5 separate regions of the Homo sapiens genome follow, and regions 1, 2, 3 and 5 are each linked to region 4. The links are contacts of gene promoters, found by promoter capture Hi-C in human tissues and cell types (Jung and others, 2019). All regions are on one chromosome and are shown on one strand. The core of a region is centred on a gene start or on the middle of the fragment in contact, and the rest is flanking DNA. Distances in the headings are between cores, read along the strand shown.

Region 1 (3,328 bases), core at 38-2,537, 150 kb before region 4:
CCGCATCAGCGGCCTCGGGGAATGGAAGCGGAGAACGCGGGCAGCTACTCCCTTCAGCAAGCTCAAGCTTTTTATACGTTTCCATTTCAACAACTGATGGCTGAAGCTCCTAATATGGCAGTTGTGAATGAACAGCAAATGCCAGAAGAAGTTCCAGCCCCAGCTCCTGCTCAGGAACCAGTGCAAGAGGCTCCAAAAGGAAGAAAAAGAAAACCCAGAACAACAGAACCAAAACAACCAGTGGAACCCAAAAAACCTGTTGAGTCAAAAAAATCTAGCAAGTCTGCAAAATCAAAAGAAAAGCAAGAAAAATTACAGACACATTTAAAGTCAAAAGAAAAGTAGACCGTTTTAATGGTGTTTCAGAAGCTGAACTTCTGACCAAGACTCTCCCCGATATTTTGACCTTCAATCTGGACATTGTCATTATTGGCATAAACCCGGGTCTAATGGCTGCTTACAAAGGGCATCATTACCCTGGACCTGGAAACCATTTTTGGAAGTGTTTGTTTATGTCAGGGCTCAGTGAGGTCCAGGTGAACCATATGGATGATCACACTCTACCAGGGAAGTATGGTATTGGATTTACCAACATGGTGGAAAGGACCACGCCTGGCAGCAAAGATCTCTCCAGTAAAGAATTTCGTGAAGGAGGACGTATTCTAGTACAGAAATTATAGAAATATCAGCCACGAATAGCAGTGTTTAATGGAAAATGTATTTATGAAATTTTTAGTAAAGAAGTTTTTGGTGTAAAGGTTAAGAACTTGGAATTTGGGCTTCAGCCCCATAAGATTCCAGGCACAGAAACTCTCTGCTATGTTATGCCGTCATCCAGTGCAAGAAGTGCTCAGTTTCCTCGGGCCCAAGACAAAGTTCATTACTACATAAAACTGAAAGACTTAAGAGATCAGTTGAGAGGCATTGAACGAAATACGGACGTTCAAGAGGTGCAATATACATTTGACCTACAGCTTGCCCAAGAAGATGCAAAGAAGATGGCTGTTAAGGAAGAAAAATATGATCTGGGTTATGAGGCAGCATATGGTGGTGCTTACGGAGAAAATCCATGCGACAGTGAACCTTGCAGCTTCTCTTCAAATGGGCTAATTGAGAGCCTGGAGTTAAGAGGAGAATCAACTTTCAGTGGCATTCCTAATGAGCAGTGGATGACCCAGTCATTTACAGACCAAATTCCTTCCTTTAATAATCACTGTGGAACACAAGAACAGGAAGAAGAAAGCCATGCTTAAGAACGGTGCTTCTCAGCTCTGCTTAAATGCTGCAGTTTTAATGCAGTTGTCAACAAGTAGAACCTCAGCTTGCTAACTGAAGTGTTTTATTAGTATTTTACTCTAGTGGTGTAATTGTAATGTAGAACAGTTGTGTGGTAGTGTGAACCGTATGAACCTAAGTAGTTTGGAAGAAAAAGTAGGGTTGTTGTATACTAGCTTTTGTATTTGAATTAATCATCATTCCAGCTTTTTATATACTATGTTTCATTTATGAAGAAATTGATTTTCTTTTGGGAGTCACTTTTGATCTGTAATTTTAAAATACAAGTCTGAATATTTGTAGTTGATTCTTAACTGTGCATAAACCTAGATATACCATTATCCCTTTTATACCTAAGAAGGGCATGCTAATAATTACCACTGTCAAAGAGGCAAAGGTGTTGATTTTTGTATATGAAGTTAAGCCTCAGCAGAGTCTCATTTGTTAGTTTTTAGTGGTAACTAAGGGTAAACTCAGGGTTTCCTGAGCTATATGCACACTCAGACCTCTTTGCTTTACCAGTGGTGTTTGTGGGTTGCTCAGTAGTAAAAACTGGCCCTTACCTGACAGAGCCCTGGCTTTGACCTGCTCAGCCCTGTGTGTTAATCCTCTAGTAGCTAGTAACTACTCTGGGGTGGCAGGTTCCAGAGAATGCAGTAGACCTTTTGCCACTCATCTATGTTTTACTTGAGACACGTAAATATGATAGGGAAGGAACTGAATTTCTCCATTCATATTTATAACCATTCTAGTTTTATCTTCCTTGGCTTTAAGAATGTGCCATGGAAAGTGATAAGAAATGAACTTTTAGGCTAAGCAAAAAGATGCTGGAGATATTTGATAATCTCATTTAAACTGGTGCTTTATGTACATGAGATGTACTAAAATAAGTAATATAGAGTTTTTCTTGCTAGGTAAATCCAGTAAGCCAATAATTTTAAAGATTCTTTATCTGCATCACTGCTGTTTTTTACTATAATTAAATGAACCTCATGGAAAGGTTGAGGTATATACCTTTGTGATTTTCTAATGAGTTTTCCATGGTGCTACAAATAATCCAGACTACCAGGCCTGGTAGATATTAAAGCTGGGTACTAAGAAATGTCATTTGCATCCTCTCAGTTACTCCTGAATATTCTGATTTCATACATACCCAGGGAGCATGCTGTTTTGTCAATCAATATAAAATATTTATGAGGTCTCCCCCACCCCCAGGAGGTTTTATGATTGCTCTTCTCTTTATAATAAGAGAAACAAATTCTTGTTGTGAATCTTAACATGCTTTTTAGCTGTGGCTATGATGGATTTTATTTTTTCCTAGGTCAAGCTGTGTAAAAGTCATTTATGTTATTTAAATGATGCACTGTACTGCTGTTTACATGGACGTTTTGTGCGGGTGCTTTGAAGTGCCTTGCATCAGGGATTAGGAGCAATTAAATTATTTTTTCACGGGACCGTGTAAAGCATGTAACTAGGTATTGCTTTGGTATATAACTGTTGTAGCTTTACAAGAGATTGTTTTATTTGAATGGGGAAAATACCGTTTAAATTATGACAGACATCCACTAGAGATGGGTTTGAGGATTTTCCAAGCGTGTAATAATGATGTTTTTCCTAACATGACAGATGAGTAGTAAATGTTGATATATCCTGTACATGACAGTGTGAGACTTTTTCATTAAATAATATTGAAAGATTTTAAAATTCAAAAAAAAAAAAACAAAAAAGTCAAAAGGTATCCACATGATACTTACACTCAAAAAAGGTGGCAAAGGAAGTAAGCAGACCACAAGATGTCTTTAAGGAAATGACTAAGAAACCAGAAAGTAGAGATCAGGAACATTTAGTGATTTTTGGCCATCCCCTGACCTTCCTAAACATCATAACGTCACTGCATGCTGGGGGACTGACCTGCAAAGGGAGCTTGTCAACTTTGATGATCTAGAGAACACCTCATTGGGGCTCTCCTGGAACCAGCCCATGCAGAAATGATTCAGCCATTTCTGAGAATGTGTCCCCTGCAGCAAACCAGCTGTGTTGCATCCAAAAGTTT
Region 2 (3,566 bases), core at 879-3,378, 180 kb before region 4:
ACTATGGTACATAATTTATGTATTACACATATTATTTGTGCATATGTGTACATATATGTCAATATATTATATATACATATTATATATTAAATTAGCAGCAGGATATGTTATTAATATCTTCAAGGCACCATCTTTCTCTGATCTGTATTCAAATCATCATCTCTTTCCATCCTCCCCCTTCTGCCCTATCATCACTACTGGCCATGGTTCTCGTACCATTCATAGCCCTTCAATAATTATGATAGAAGACACTAAGGAATTCTGTGCTTCTGTGCTCTGCATCCCTTCTCGTAGTCTCTCTACCCTGCCCTAGCCTCCATCCTTATCCCAACACACACACACACATACATAGCATTTCCTCAAGTCCATGGCTACTGTGAGGGTTGCATTAACCATATTTAAAAATGTATTTGTTGGCCAGGTGTGGTGGCTCACATCTCTAATCCCAGCACTTTGGGAGGCTGAGGTGGGAGGATTGCTTGAGCCCAGGAGTTTGAAACCAGCTTGAACAACATAGTAAGACCCCATCTTTCCAAACACTTTAAAAATTAGCCAGGTGTGGTGGCGCACACACATGGTCCCAGCTACTTGGGAGGCTGAGGCAGGAAGATTGCTTGAGCCTGGGAGATAGAGGCTGCAGTGAGCTGTTATTGCACCACTGCACTCCAGCCAGGGCAACAGAGTGAGACTCTTGTCTCAAAAAAAAAGTATATGTTATTTGGTGTTGCGTTTACACATAGGTAAATTATACATATATAATAAAATATATACATATTAATTTACATACACATATATCTTGTTGGGAGGTCCTAGCCGGAGAGCACAAAGACTTATATACCCTTGACTGAAAAATGATCCTCCTCTATCAGGGAAGGCCATCCTTTTTGACCAAGCAGCCTCAGGAGAGATGCACATGGAGCTGTGAGAAAGGGGACACCCACCTAGCCGGCCAGATCAGCCAAATCAACCCTGGCCATCAATCGGGTGACAGATGTCTCAGCCAGATGACCCTCACATCCACATACACATACATCTTTCCATACATTCATATGAAATAATGTAACCATACAATATACGCACAATTTTTTTTCCTTCTCTTTGGTCAAAAACTGTATTCCTTCCAGATACTAATATGGTACTAGAGGAAGCTAAATGCTCTTTTTTCAATGACCCCTGCAGCCTGAGAGCAAATTAGTGTTGTTCACAGATGCTTTTTGTGTGCATATTTAGTTAGTGCAATTACTTTTGTACCAATCTAATAGTATTTTCCAGAACATAACTTGGAGCAGGTCAGGAGATGGAAATAAAGGAAGGGCACACACTCTCTTGAGTATTTCTTTATATGTACAGCTTCAGCCTCCATAGATGTTAGGTGTGAATGTTTTTCTCCACTGCATTTAGATTATGTCAAAGGGAGTCAAAGTTAATAAACACAGACTGTGAGAAAGTCAATCTCTTTTTGAACATAAGTGCAGAAACCATTTCATCCCTAGTTCCTGGCTCAGTACCTACCACATAATCAGCACTCAATAAATATAGATTAAGTGACTGACTGGATGAATGAATATAGTGCAATTTTGGTCCAGGTAAAAATGAAAAGTGGAGAGGGAGAAATTGTTCTTTATTTTCAGAGACGCATGGCTATGTATTCTGAAGACAGACAAGAGAATCTGGTAGCCTGGAAATTGACAATCATGAAAAAAAGGAACTCAACAAGTTTTCCATTAGGGACTCAGCATCGTGATCTGGTTTCGGAAGCCTAGATATTGGCTGAGATCAAATAAAGAAGTTCAGGAGAGATGAGTGACTCTAAACATACTCCTATTCCTTAACCAGTAAGCTTGCAAACCATTGAAAATTTTGTGCTTAACTGTGGCCTCAGTCTACAGAGAAAGCTCCAGGCTCCACAGAAAATGTGTAAGAAATGGGTCTTGTAATGACAGTCTGGTATTATCAATATTCCACTGATCACAGTGACCTTACCTTGTATTAATGATTGCTTAGGGTGAATGACATACTAAAGTTCAATAAAAACATCTTCCATGTATAAACGTCATTGGGAGCTACTACCACCTTTAAAGAAAGTGTCATTCAGCAATCTAACCCTTGTAGTCTTTCTGGAAGTGGGTGGCCACTTAGGACTATCTGGACACAGGAAGCTTAGGATGCAATTGACCAGGCAGCTCTTTAGAAAATAGAAATCCAGCCGACCTTCCTGATCTCCACTGACTCTGCATTTGTTTAGACTGATGCATTTGCATACATTACGTGCAGCCTACTTTTTTCCCCCTAACTTGGTAATAAAAACATGGCAAGATGGAAAACACACCACGTTCATGCATTTTAATGTCCTAATATTTGTTAACTTGGAATGAAATATAAAATATATCTGGTTTTAGCACCCTAGCAAGCTGAATGCTTTGGCCATCTGTTCATTTCTTGCTTTTCTACATCTTAGCCATTTCACTTCTGCTTCTAATTGTAACTGCCACTTTTATGCTGATGCCACAAATCCTGAGACCTTTTTAATGCCACTTTCAGGCCTCCTTGGCTCATCTAAAACGATGGCTTAATCTCAATTGCTTTTAAATTTATTTTAAACCCAAGGGGTTGATCTAAATAAACAGGTATTCTTGAATAATACAATTCCATTTTCTTTATCTGACTTCTTGTTTTATTTTTCACATTGGCTACCCCAGTCCATGGCCTGTTCCTCAGGACTGTATCATTTTTCTTTCAATGTCTTACTCTCTCCATTCCATCGCAGCTGAAGCTTTCAATCACATTATCTTATTGCACATTATAATTTTGCTTTCACACTGCCATGTACTCTGTTTAATTAAATAATTTGTTGACACACTCAGATTTCTATTTACCCTCGTCTGGGAGTTCCAGCCAAGATAATTACATCCCGGGCTTCAGGACCTCCCTACGGTAAAATGTTGAAGTAGGGAACATTTGTCTTTAGCTGTCTCTCACAGGATTTATCAACTTGGTATCTTCTCTTCTCCCCTCACTTTCCCTCCTCCCTCCTTCCCAACATGTGAAGTGATTATCCATTTTGGCTCTTCCCATCCATTCCTGATTTTAAATAGTTTTCCCTATTATCTTTAAACCTAATTGTAAGTCTATGTCTCTATCCGGCTTAATAATAGAATAAAATTTGCAAAACTCCAATCCTCTTATTCCCACTAAAATATATTAGTAAATAAGAAAACTATTGGTTCTTAAGCATTTGAGCTAGTTCAACCATGTTGAGGGAAAAAAGTACTTACCAAGTGCTAACTATATTCAAGGCACCACAGTAGGTGCTAGGAGTGTGGCAAGGGATAAGGCGCCAGTCCCTGAACTCCCAAAGTGTGGAGTCTCTTAAAGAAAACAGACACAGGCCAGGCACAGTGGCTCATGCCTGTAATCCCAGCAGTTTGGGAGGCTGAGGTGGGCAGATCACCTGAGGTCAAGGATTTGAGACCAGCCTGGCCAACATGGTGAAACCTCGACTTTACCAAAAAATACAAAAATTAGCCGGGTGTGGTGGCGTGTGCCTGTATTCCTAGCCACTGGGG
Region 3 (3,273 bases), core at 390-2,889, 130 kb after region 4:
CCAGGTTCAAGCAATTCTCCTGCATCGGCCTCCTGAGTAGCTGGGATTACAGGTATAAGCCACCATGCCCAGCTAATCTTGTAATTTTTTATTTTTATTTTTATTTTGAGATGGAGTCTCGCTCCGTCACCAGGCTGGAGTGCAGTGGCGCGATCTCAGCTCACTGCAACCTCTGCTTCCTTAGTTCAAGCAATTCTCCTGCTTCAGCCTCCTGAGTAGCTGGCATTACAGGCATGTGCCACTACGCCCAGCTAATTTTTGTATTTTTAGTAGAGATGGGGTTTCACCATGTTGGTCAGGCTGGTTTCGATCTCGTGACCTTGTGATCCGCCTGCCTCGGCCTCCCAAAGTGCTGGGATTACAGGTGCGAGCCACCTCGCCCAGTCCTCAAATACATACAAATATATTTAAAAATGAAGACGAGGTAAACTTTCTCAGAAATCTAAGCATTTATTACCCAGGATGGTCATAGGACCAGCAGCCTTGGTGTTGCCTGGGGGTTGGTTGGAAATGTAGAGCCTCAGGCCCCACTTACTGAGCTAGAATATATATTTTAGTGAGATTCCATGTTACTTACATGCACATTCAAGTTGCAGAAGTGCTGGTGTCATCCAAGAAGAGGGCCAAGGACAGGAGCATCTACAATTACATAGATGGAATATCTACAATTATGACACCCACAGGTAGAAGAGGCCAGAGAAGGAGACCAGGAGGAATTAGAAGCTAAAAGCACTGGGAGAAGAGTTAGTGTCTTCATCTGTTTGGACTGCTATAACAAAAAATGCCATTAATCGGGTAGCTTATAAACAACTGAAATTTATTTCTCACAGTTCTGGAGGCTGGGAAATTCAAGATCAAAGTGCCAGCAGATTTGGTGTCTGGTGACGGCCCATTCATCTTAGACGTCACCTTCTTGCTGTGGCCTCACACGATGAAAGGGGCAAACAAGCTCCCTTGGGCCACCCCCCATGACATAACCACCTCCGAAAAGGCCTCCCCTCTTAACACCATCACCTACGGGGCTAGGATTTCAACAGATGAATTTTGGGTGACACAAACATTCAGACCATAGCAGTCACTATCTAACAACAGGTGGATGGGACGTTTGTCTAAACCGAATTGTACTTCGGTAACAGGATCATATAAGGACAAATTTAACCAATGTCTTTTTTAGTTTTTAGTTTCTTTTGTTTTGGTTTTAGCAACTCTAGATTTTCTAGAGACTATCAACATTACCTTTCTTTGCTCTCCAGCCCCCATGCCCAGAAAAGAAATAAGATTATTAGGGAGTCAAGTATCTCGGCTCTTCTTACCTCTTAGGGTAGTAAATTGCTTTTTGTATGCGAGTGGTTTTGCGTATGTGAAGATAATTTTGAGATAGGAGTAGAATGCCCTGAAGATAATGCTTATGTTTTAAAGATAATAAGCCAACACAGTGAACGGAATAAGCTGCACTGGACCTGAGGAGTGAGGTTAAATAGGGAAGTAAGACACCACCTGGAGACAGTATTGCTCAAGACTGAAAGTGGATGAGGGTTGCAAAGCTGTTTGCACAGTGCTTCTGAAGCATCATGGCAGCCTGGGGAATTTCCCATGCTGAGCTTGCCTGGAGTATGTGTGTGTATGCATGCATGTGTATGTGCATTCGTTTGTGTGTGAAGGAAGGGGAGCAGAGCTGCTGGCTTAGTCAGCTACCTTTGAATGCTTCTCCCTCAACAGGGGCTGAGAACCAGACCCCTTGCCTTTGTCCCTGAATTATATTAGCTCAGGGGTTCTTATGCCATCCAAAGATAAGGACATAAGAAGAATAGGGAAAGTGCCAAAAATTAACTGATATTGTATTTAATTAAGAAAAAAATAAATATAATATTTATAATATTTAAGTTTGAGTGTTGTGGAGAGATATATGCCTGTTTCATTTAGCTTCTGGCATACCCTTTATTGCCAGAGTTGCTTCATTTCTGATAGATTTTTATTGGAAGTAGTTTCCAATAGGTTGACTTCATGTTTGTTTAAACTCCCCATTTCCTGACTCTATCAGGCACTTTAAGAGAAAGCAAATAGTAAATTAGAAAGTAGAAAGGAGTCTGGAGGCCCAGCAGTTCCAAATCATCTTTATTCCATAATAGCCATCAAACACTGGGCAAGGCACTGAGTCTCTCTGGGCCTTAGTTCCTACTTTTGTAAAATAAAGAGCTAAGGTGAGTTCATTTCTGTCTTTTCCAGCACTAGCACTCCACAATTCTCTGATATGTATTAAGGACAATGAATACAGAAAGGTTTGAAAATCACGCAGATGAAGAACAGAAATAACAAACATGGCTGCAACTTAAATTTGTCAGTCAATTCAATTTCTTCAAAGTTTTTTACTAAGCATTGTCCACAGTATGGGCAGCCAGGGAAACAGAGAACAATGAAGAGGTAACAGATGGAAGAAGGTCAATAACTCCGAACACAGCTCCCTAGTGTGGGGATCCAGTGTCCCCACTGTGTAGCTGGACTGGCCTCCTCCCCTCAGGCTTCTTTCATGGTGGCAGGGTGCTCTTGCACATCGGGCTGCCTGTTGCTCTTAAGGACTGATCCTGCATGGAGAGGCCTCTGTGTCTCCAATCGTCAGCCTGTCCTACTGGTTTTAGCTAAAAAGTCTTACCTGGGCCGGACACAGTGGCTAACTCCTGTAATCCCAGCACTGTGGGAGGCCGAGGCAGGTGGATCACGAGGTCAAGCGATCGAGATCATCATTTTTGTACAAAAATTCAAAAATTAGCCAGGCGTGGTGGCAGGCACCTGTAGTCCCAGCTACTCAGGAGGCTGAGGCAGGAGAATCACTTGAACCCAGGAGGTGGAGGTTGCAGTGAGCTGAGATTGCACCACTGCACTCCAGCCTGGCGACAGAGCAAGACTCTGTCTTAAAAAAAAAAAAAAAAAAAAAAAGTCTTACCTAACAACCTCCCTTCCCTTCCCACCAGATTAGGTTCACCTATTAAATGCTAATAGCATTCTTTGCTTTCTGTCACACAGTTATGTAATTATACAGTGATTTTTCTGGTTATTTGATACCTATCTGTAAGCAGCACAAGGGCAGGGACCATGTTTGTTTTGTTCACTGCTCAATTCCTAGAACCTATTACAGGCCCTGGCATATAATATGCCTTCAGAAAATTTGAATTCAATGAAAAGGCGAATGTATGAGTCCCATCTTGCATATAAGAAGACAAAAACTCTTTGCCCAAGTCAAATTACTCACAAGTGAGACAACAGGAACACGAATCT
Region 4 (3,152 bases), core at 300-2,799:
GGCAGAAAGTTCTAAGAAGGAGAGGTCAACATTGGCAAATGCCACAAAGGGCACAAGATGGGAATTAAATTTTTCCATTAGATTTGGCAATTAAGCAATGGCTGATGTTGTTCAGTGGAGTGAAAGGCTGAGAAGGGAATGAGAGGTTAGGAAACATTCACCTTAAGGCTAGGCAACTCCTTTGAAAAGAGTCAAGTAGGGTTAAGGGAGGATCCATGCCCTCCAGGTTGACTTTTAAATCATATTCCCTTTGGTTTTGCATTTGAATCACAGTGAACTTTCTCCTCTCCAAATGTTGATTTGACAAATTTGAGTCTTACCATGGCTCTCTTCTCAGTCCACCTGCAGGTCAAGGAACTAATGAGGTGTGGAGTAACTAAAGGTCAAAAAACAAGAGGAAGAAACAAAGGGCCAAAAAACCCCAAACCTTAAATCAGGTCCTGAGTCAGATACGCTGTAACAAATTCTGCTTCAAGTTTAATATTCTTGTTTTGATGATGTTTAAAAAAAGAAAAATAAAAGCAAGTGTCTGGAAAATTAAAAGGCGGGGTGGGGGGGGGCATTTTAATTGGAATGCTTTCTTGTATCTCATCCACTATCCGCACCCCATCGCCCTGCAAATTAATAGCTGTTGCGGAGTTGGGGTATGTGTGACCACAAAATCCAAAGGCTGAATTTTGCCCAGTGCCTGAGTAATTGCATGCCACACACAAAAAAACAGTAGAATATTGAAAACAACATACACATCTGTATTTCCATATGAAAGCACCCGTTTCCTTTCTTGATTATCTGCTATTTTTAAAGGGGTTGGGAGTGCAGCGGGGCGGGGGGATGAGGCGTTTTTTCTGAATACGAGCCCAGCTCTTTCTAAACTTTTGTTACTCACGTCCGTTTGATTCATTTGCTGTGTTTTTTCTTTCTTTCTTTTTTTTTTTCCCCTCTCCTGCCTCTGTCATTGCCTGCTGCTAAGAGGGACGCTGAATCACAGCCACTGCAGATGAAAAGCAATTCAAACCCAGTCCTTGGAGGGGGGATGGAACGGCTCTTTTTGATTTTTTTCCCCTCTGCAGAAAAAGCCTCCTACTTTCCGGGTGACCGTAGAGGGCAGTTTGACAAGTCTCAGCCCCGGGCGATGGAAGATTTTGCCCGTGGGACCGTCACGAGCCACCGGTCATCTCCCCGCGCCCGGCTTTCGGGTCCTCAGGCCTCGGTGCGTCGCGGGCCAGGCGACAGCGGGGGGGCGTCGCGGGCCGGGCGAGCGTGGCCCGGTGGGCCCGAGGGTCGCGCCGAGCTCCCCGCCGCTTTAAAAGCTCCCACAATGCAGCGCTGGCGTCCCAGTTCCGTTACGAGGTCTCTCCCGGCGCCGGCGAGCGGGCCAGGCGCGGGCGGGGCGCGGAGGAGCGGCGGCTGAAACCCGAGCGCCCGGCCGAGGGGGGCGCCCCCGCGCCGCTCCTCTCGCGCGCTCAGCCGCTGCCCGGCGAAGGGGCGGAGCCGCCTGGCCGCCCGGCCCGGCCCGGCCCGGCCCGGCCCCCAGCCCGGCCCCCAGCCCAGAGGCACCGGCCGCGGGAGCGAGCGGGTCGCCGACTCCTACGCCCGCGCTCCTCCTACGCCCGCGCTCGTCCGGCGCCCCGCGCCGCGCCCCGCTCAGCGTCTGCCGCCCAGCTCCTCGCCCAGCCTCGCCGAGCCTCGCCCTTCCCGCCCGCGGCGGCGTTGGCGCTGGGGGCGGCTCCCGCGGCGTCTCTGCCGCTGGCCGAGCGCTCGCGCACCGCGGCACCCCCGCCAGTGGCGTCCACACTCACCTAGCGCGGGCCGGGAGGTGCGCGGAGAGGGAACGCCGGGGGGCCGGGGCCTCCAGCCGGTGCGGGGCGCGCGGCGCGGGGAGCGCCGGGGAGTGCCGGGGAGTGCGGCGCGGGGACGGGCGCTGGGCGGCCGCGGAGCTCCGGGTGCCGCCGCGTCCCCAGCGCCCCGGCCGGCCCCTCTGGGCGGCCTGCGGGGGCGGCGCAGTTGCGAAACTGAGTAAGTATTAACTTTACTTAGCGGCGGCGATCCGGGCTGCGCCGGGGACCCCGCCCGTCCCGCCTGCAGCCTCGGAGCTGCCCTCCGCCCGGTTGCCCCTCTCTCCGCACCTTGGGTACCTCGTCCGTTCCGCCCCCACCCTGCCCCGCCGCGGGCTCCCGCTCCCTCTGCGTTCACCTTTCCTGGTGTGTCACCCTTTGCGCCTCTCCTCGCGGCACACAAGCCGCGGACTGAAAAGTACGAGCTTGGTCTTTGCTTTTCTGCTTCCTCCCAGTGTCCTTGGCAAGGGAGTTTAGAGGCCACTTTTCTTGCAAAGGGAATTTTATGTCTGGTTTTTAAAATATTTTTTCCTCCGGATGGAAATCGGATGCTCGCTTGCCGGGTGGCGGTTTGGTGAACGCTTTTCTCCTCTAAAAAAATATTGGTTTATAGGTTTTTAAATTTCATTTGAACTATTAACCATCTGCATTCTATTCTCCTTTGCCGCCAGTCCCTTTGGGGAGGGGAGTCCAGAAGAGGGGACGTTCAAAGTAATTCTGACTTGCAAACTAGAAAGTTTGAGAGGGTAAATCGCACAAAGCCGGAAGATTCAACTTGAAGGGACGCGAGCTTTGAATGTGGGTCCTGGTGCGGCACTGGGTTTTAAAAGATGAGTACTTGGGTTCGGAATCCAGTGTTGCGTTGTTATTTTAGCATCATAGAGCCGCCTGGTGTTGCTAAACCACTACTTTCCCAGCCTCAAATGGCATCTTGAACAGTGCAACGTAGGATATATAATTGCGGGTCAATATTGTTGCTGATCTTTAGGGATTTAGAAGCGAAATGAATGCAAATCACGTCTCATAGCTGACTTAAACCTGTCAGGTTAGCCCTGTCAGGTTAGCATTAAAGCATTTCATTAAAAAAAAAAATCCTCTAGCCCTGTGACAGCAGGGACGAACATTTATGGATTTTCCAGTAGATTGTGGCTCAGCAATTCATTAGATCTGCTTTGTCCCCAGGAAGCATTTTAAAATATGTATAAATCTCTGCTTTTCTCTCCATTAGATTAACCACTCATTCTGGTAGGGGGCCCCAGGTAGTTTTTATTTTCTTTTTTGCCTTTCATCTTGGAGTTGCCAGGAGTTGCCATCATG
Region 5 (3,494 bases), core at 291-2,790, 200 kb before region 4:
CTTTGGGAGGCCGAGGCGGGCAGATCACGAGGTCAGGAGATCAAGACCATCCTGGCCAACATGGTGAAACCACGTCTCTACTAAAAATACAAAAATTAGCTGGGTGTGGTAGCGTGTGCCTGTAGTCCCAGCTACTTGGGAGGCTGAGGCAGGAGAATTGCTTGAAGCCGGGAGGTGGAGGTTGCAGTGAGCCAAGATTGCGCCACTGCACTCCAGCCTGGGCAACAGAGTGAGACTCCATTTCAAACAAAACAAAACAAAAATAATAAGTTAATCAACAGATTGAAGCAAAATATTACTAATGCATCATGGAGTTTATAACCCATAGAGAAGTAAAATGTATGAAGACAATGGCACAAAGACCAGGAGAGGAGAAAAGGAAGTGTATTTTGTAGGGGTCTTATACTTGAAGTAATGTAACAGTGCTTGAAGTTAAACTGTGATAAACTAAAGATGTATAGTATAATCCCCCAAACAATAACTACACTAACACAAAAAATTATTTATAGCTAATGCACAAACAATGGAGATGAACTAGAATCATAAAAAACACTGGAGAAAGAGAAAATGGAAGAAGAACGTATGTGACAATAGAAAATAAATAGTAAGATGGTAGATTGTAATAATCACATTGAATGTAAAAGGTCTGAACATACCAACTAAAGGCAGAGCTTCTCAGATTAAATAAAACTGACCTAATTATATGCTTCGTTAGAAGATACAAATAAGTTCAAAGTAAAGGATACAAAAAGATATAGTGTACTAATGTGAATAAAAAGAAGGCTGGAGTAGCTACATTAACATCAGAGTAAACAATGTAACAGGGATAAAGAGAGGCATTTCATAATGAAAAAGAGGGTAAATTCATCAGGAGGATATAACATTCTTAAACATTAAGACCTCCAATAACAGATCTTCAAAATATCTGAATCAGAAATAGATGGAACTGCAAGAAGAAAGAGATAAATCCACAATTACAATTAGATGTTGTTTATGAACTCTAATAGTTTTTTGTGGGTTACTTAGGTGGACAATTGATTGACAAGTGTGTAAAGGCAACCCAGTGGATAAAATAGAGTTTTTTTCCACAAATGGTTTTGGAAAAATGGAACATTAGCATCCAAAAACAAAGCAAAACAAAAACTCCAATCCATTCCTCATACAACATGTACAAAACCAAAAAAACAGTCCAATGGACTTCATCAAAATTAAACATTTTTACTCTCTGAAAGACACTGTGAAGAAAATGAAAGGATAAATCACCAACTGGGTAACAATGTCTTCACATGACATATCTGGTAACGAACTCATATCTCAAATATTTAAGGAACTCTCTAACAACCCAATGCCTTGAAAATGGGCAAAAGATTTGAACAGACATTCCTCAAAGAAAATACACAAGTGGCAAATAAGCACATGAAAAGATACTCAATAGCATTCGTCATTGAGGAATGGAAATTTTTAAAAATGAGATACCACTACACAACTAGTAAAATGAATAAAATTAACAAGACTTAGCATACCAAGTATTGACAAGGATGTGGAAGAACTGCAACCCTTATATCCTGCTTGTGAGACTATAGCATGGTACAATTCCTTTGGAAAACAGTCTGAAGTTTCTTCAAAAGTTAAACACACATCTACTATATGATTCAGCTTTTCTACTTCTATGTGTTTAAGAGAAATGAAAGCATATATGTATACAAAAACTTACACATGAATGTCATAGCAGCTTTATTATAAAAGCCAAGTACCAGAGACAATCTAAATGTTTCTTAATGTGTTAATGGATATGAAAATAATAGTATATCCATAAAATGGAATCTAGTCAGCAATGAAAAAGAATGAACTATATATGCAACTGCATGGATGGACCTCAAAATAATTATGTTGGGTGAAAGAAGCCAGAACACGAAGAATACATACTTTATGTTATTCAGTTCAAACTACTGTAACCAGTTACCATAGACTGGTTGTCTTAAACAATGAACATTTATTTGTTACAGTTCTGGAGGCTATGAAGTCTAAGATTAAGGTGCCATGAGATCTGATGTCTTGAGAGGGCCCATTTACTGACTTGCAGATGGCTGTCTTCATATTGCCTCTTCACTCATAGAAAACAGAGCAGAGAGAGCAAGCTTTCGTATCTCCTCTGATTCAAACATTGATCCCATTATCTAATTACTTCCCAAAAGCCCCCGTTCCCAATACTATCACACTGGGGATCGGGATTTCAACCTATAAATTTGAGGGGAACACAAACATTCAGTATATAACATACTATATAATTCCATTTATAAAATATTCTAGAAAACGTAAACAAATCTATGGTTGCAGAAAGCAAACAAAAGTTCCCTGGGAATAAGGTTAAGGAAGAATGGAATAGAAGACTTACAAAGTGATATAAAGAAATTTGGGGGGGTTTGATGGATGTGTTCATTATCTTGGCTGGGATGATGGTTTCACAGATGTATAAATAGGTGTCATTAAATTATCCACTTTAAACATGTGTGATTTATTGTAAATTAATATTTTCAATAAAGCTATAAACAAAGTAGGATCCTATTTGTTAGAAATAAAACATTTTATAATCGCATTACGCAGCACTTTTCTAAGCATGTTACTCAGAAGTAATGTCCCACAGATTTTAATATGTTTTACTGAAAAAGAAAATTCTGTGGTTTAATAATTGAAATAGTCTGGATTAAACGCAGTTAATAGATTTGTTTTGGGCAGGACTTCTGGGAGATTTTAATATGCCAATATGCATTGTGAAATTTCAATAAGGGAATATTATTGAGTACTGTATTTCCCTAATTTGATCAGAAATTTTCTTCCAAGATGATTTTACAGGATTAACATTCCTCGGGTTTTTTATTTGGAAAATGCTGGCATAAAGACATTGTGATGACTTAACAGTAAATACAGTCGATGTGGTAAGAACTTTGGACTCTTTTTTCATGAACTATTAAAATTTATGACTAGGCTGAGTGTGGTGGCTTGCACCTGTAATTCCAACACTTTGGAAGGCTGAGGTGGGAGGATTGCTTGAGCCCAGGAGTTCAAGGCCAGCCTGGGCAACATGGGGACACCCTGTCTCTACAAAAAAACAACAATATGACTTACGATTAGACAATATAATCTTCATCTAAATTCAAGCATTGGAGCAAATTGCAAATTTTAGAAAGACTTTAAAAATGTGTTCACTAAATTAGTAACTGATTGCTCTCCAGTGAATGTTTTGCATGGGATCTTTTTTCTTTTTTTAATTAATAGACTTCTTTTTTTTTTCTTTCAGCAGTTTTAGGCTTACAGAAGAAATGAGTAGAAAAGTAAAAAGAATTCTTTTATCTCCTTTACCCCTTCCCCGATTTCCTCTATTTATTAACACCTTGCATTTTGTAGTACATTTGTTATAATTGATGAACCAATATAGATACATTATTATTAACTAAAGCTCACAGACTACATTAGAGTTCACTCTGTGTTATACA

The links. The method cuts DNA at HindIII sites, captures the fragments that hold promoters and counts their contacts. A contact is called where the count stands out against the background at its distance.
Region 1: a fragment that was not itself captured here is called in contact with the fragment with the promoter of RASSF8 in region 4 in 2 of the 25 tissues and cell types used here (adrenal gland and thymus).
Region 2: a contact is called between a fragment that was not itself captured here and the fragment with the promoter of RASSF8 in region 4, in 2 of the 25 tissues and cell types used here (IMR-90 fibroblasts and hippocampus).
Region 3: a fragment that was not itself captured here is called in contact with the fragment with the promoter of RASSF8 in region 4 in 2 of the 25 tissues and cell types used here (hippocampus and stomach).
Region 5: a contact is called between a fragment that was not itself captured here and the fragment with the promoter of RASSF8 in region 4, in 1 of the 25 tissues and cell types used here (IMR-90 fibroblasts).

The regions. Positions count from the first base shown.
Region 1 is chr12:25,803,277-25,806,604 of GRCh38, forward strand. It overlaps the pseudogene TDGP1. Among named protein-coding and RNA genes, the nearest start is that of MIR4302, 69 kb to the right of the region's middle. The HindIII fragment of the contact is 6,268 bases long and covers 1-3,328 here.
Region 2 is chr12:25,778,551-25,782,116 of GRCh38, forward strand. It overlaps the pseudogene RN7SKP262. Among named protein-coding and RNA genes, the nearest start is that of MIR4302, 94 kb to the right of the region's middle. The HindIII fragment of the contact is 5,223 bases long and covers 1-3,566 here.
Region 3 is chr12:26,087,632-26,090,904 of GRCh38, forward strand. No RefSeq gene overlaps it. Among named protein-coding and RNA genes, the nearest start is that of BHLHE41, 36 kb to the right of the region's middle. The HindIII fragment of the contact is 6,648 bases long and covers 1-3,273 here.
Region 4 is chr12:25,957,133-25,960,284 of GRCh38, forward strand. RASSF8 (Ras association domain family member 8) reads left to right here and starts at 1,550. Exons shown (of 6, transcript NM_001394098.1): 1 at 1,550-2,016. RASSF8-AS1 (RASSF8 antisense RNA 1) reads right to left here and starts at 2,310. Exons shown (of 4, transcript NR_038228.1): 1 at 2,194-2,310. RefSeq lists silencers at 1,162-1,651, 1,752-1,851, 1,922-1,971, 2,112-2,161. The HindIII fragment of the contact is 6,427 bases long and covers 1-3,152 here.
Region 5 is chr12:25,758,616-25,762,109 of GRCh38, forward strand. No RefSeq gene overlaps it. Among named protein-coding and RNA genes, the nearest start is that of MIR4302, 110 kb to the right of the region's middle. The HindIII fragment of the contact is 6,950 bases long and covers 1-3,494 here.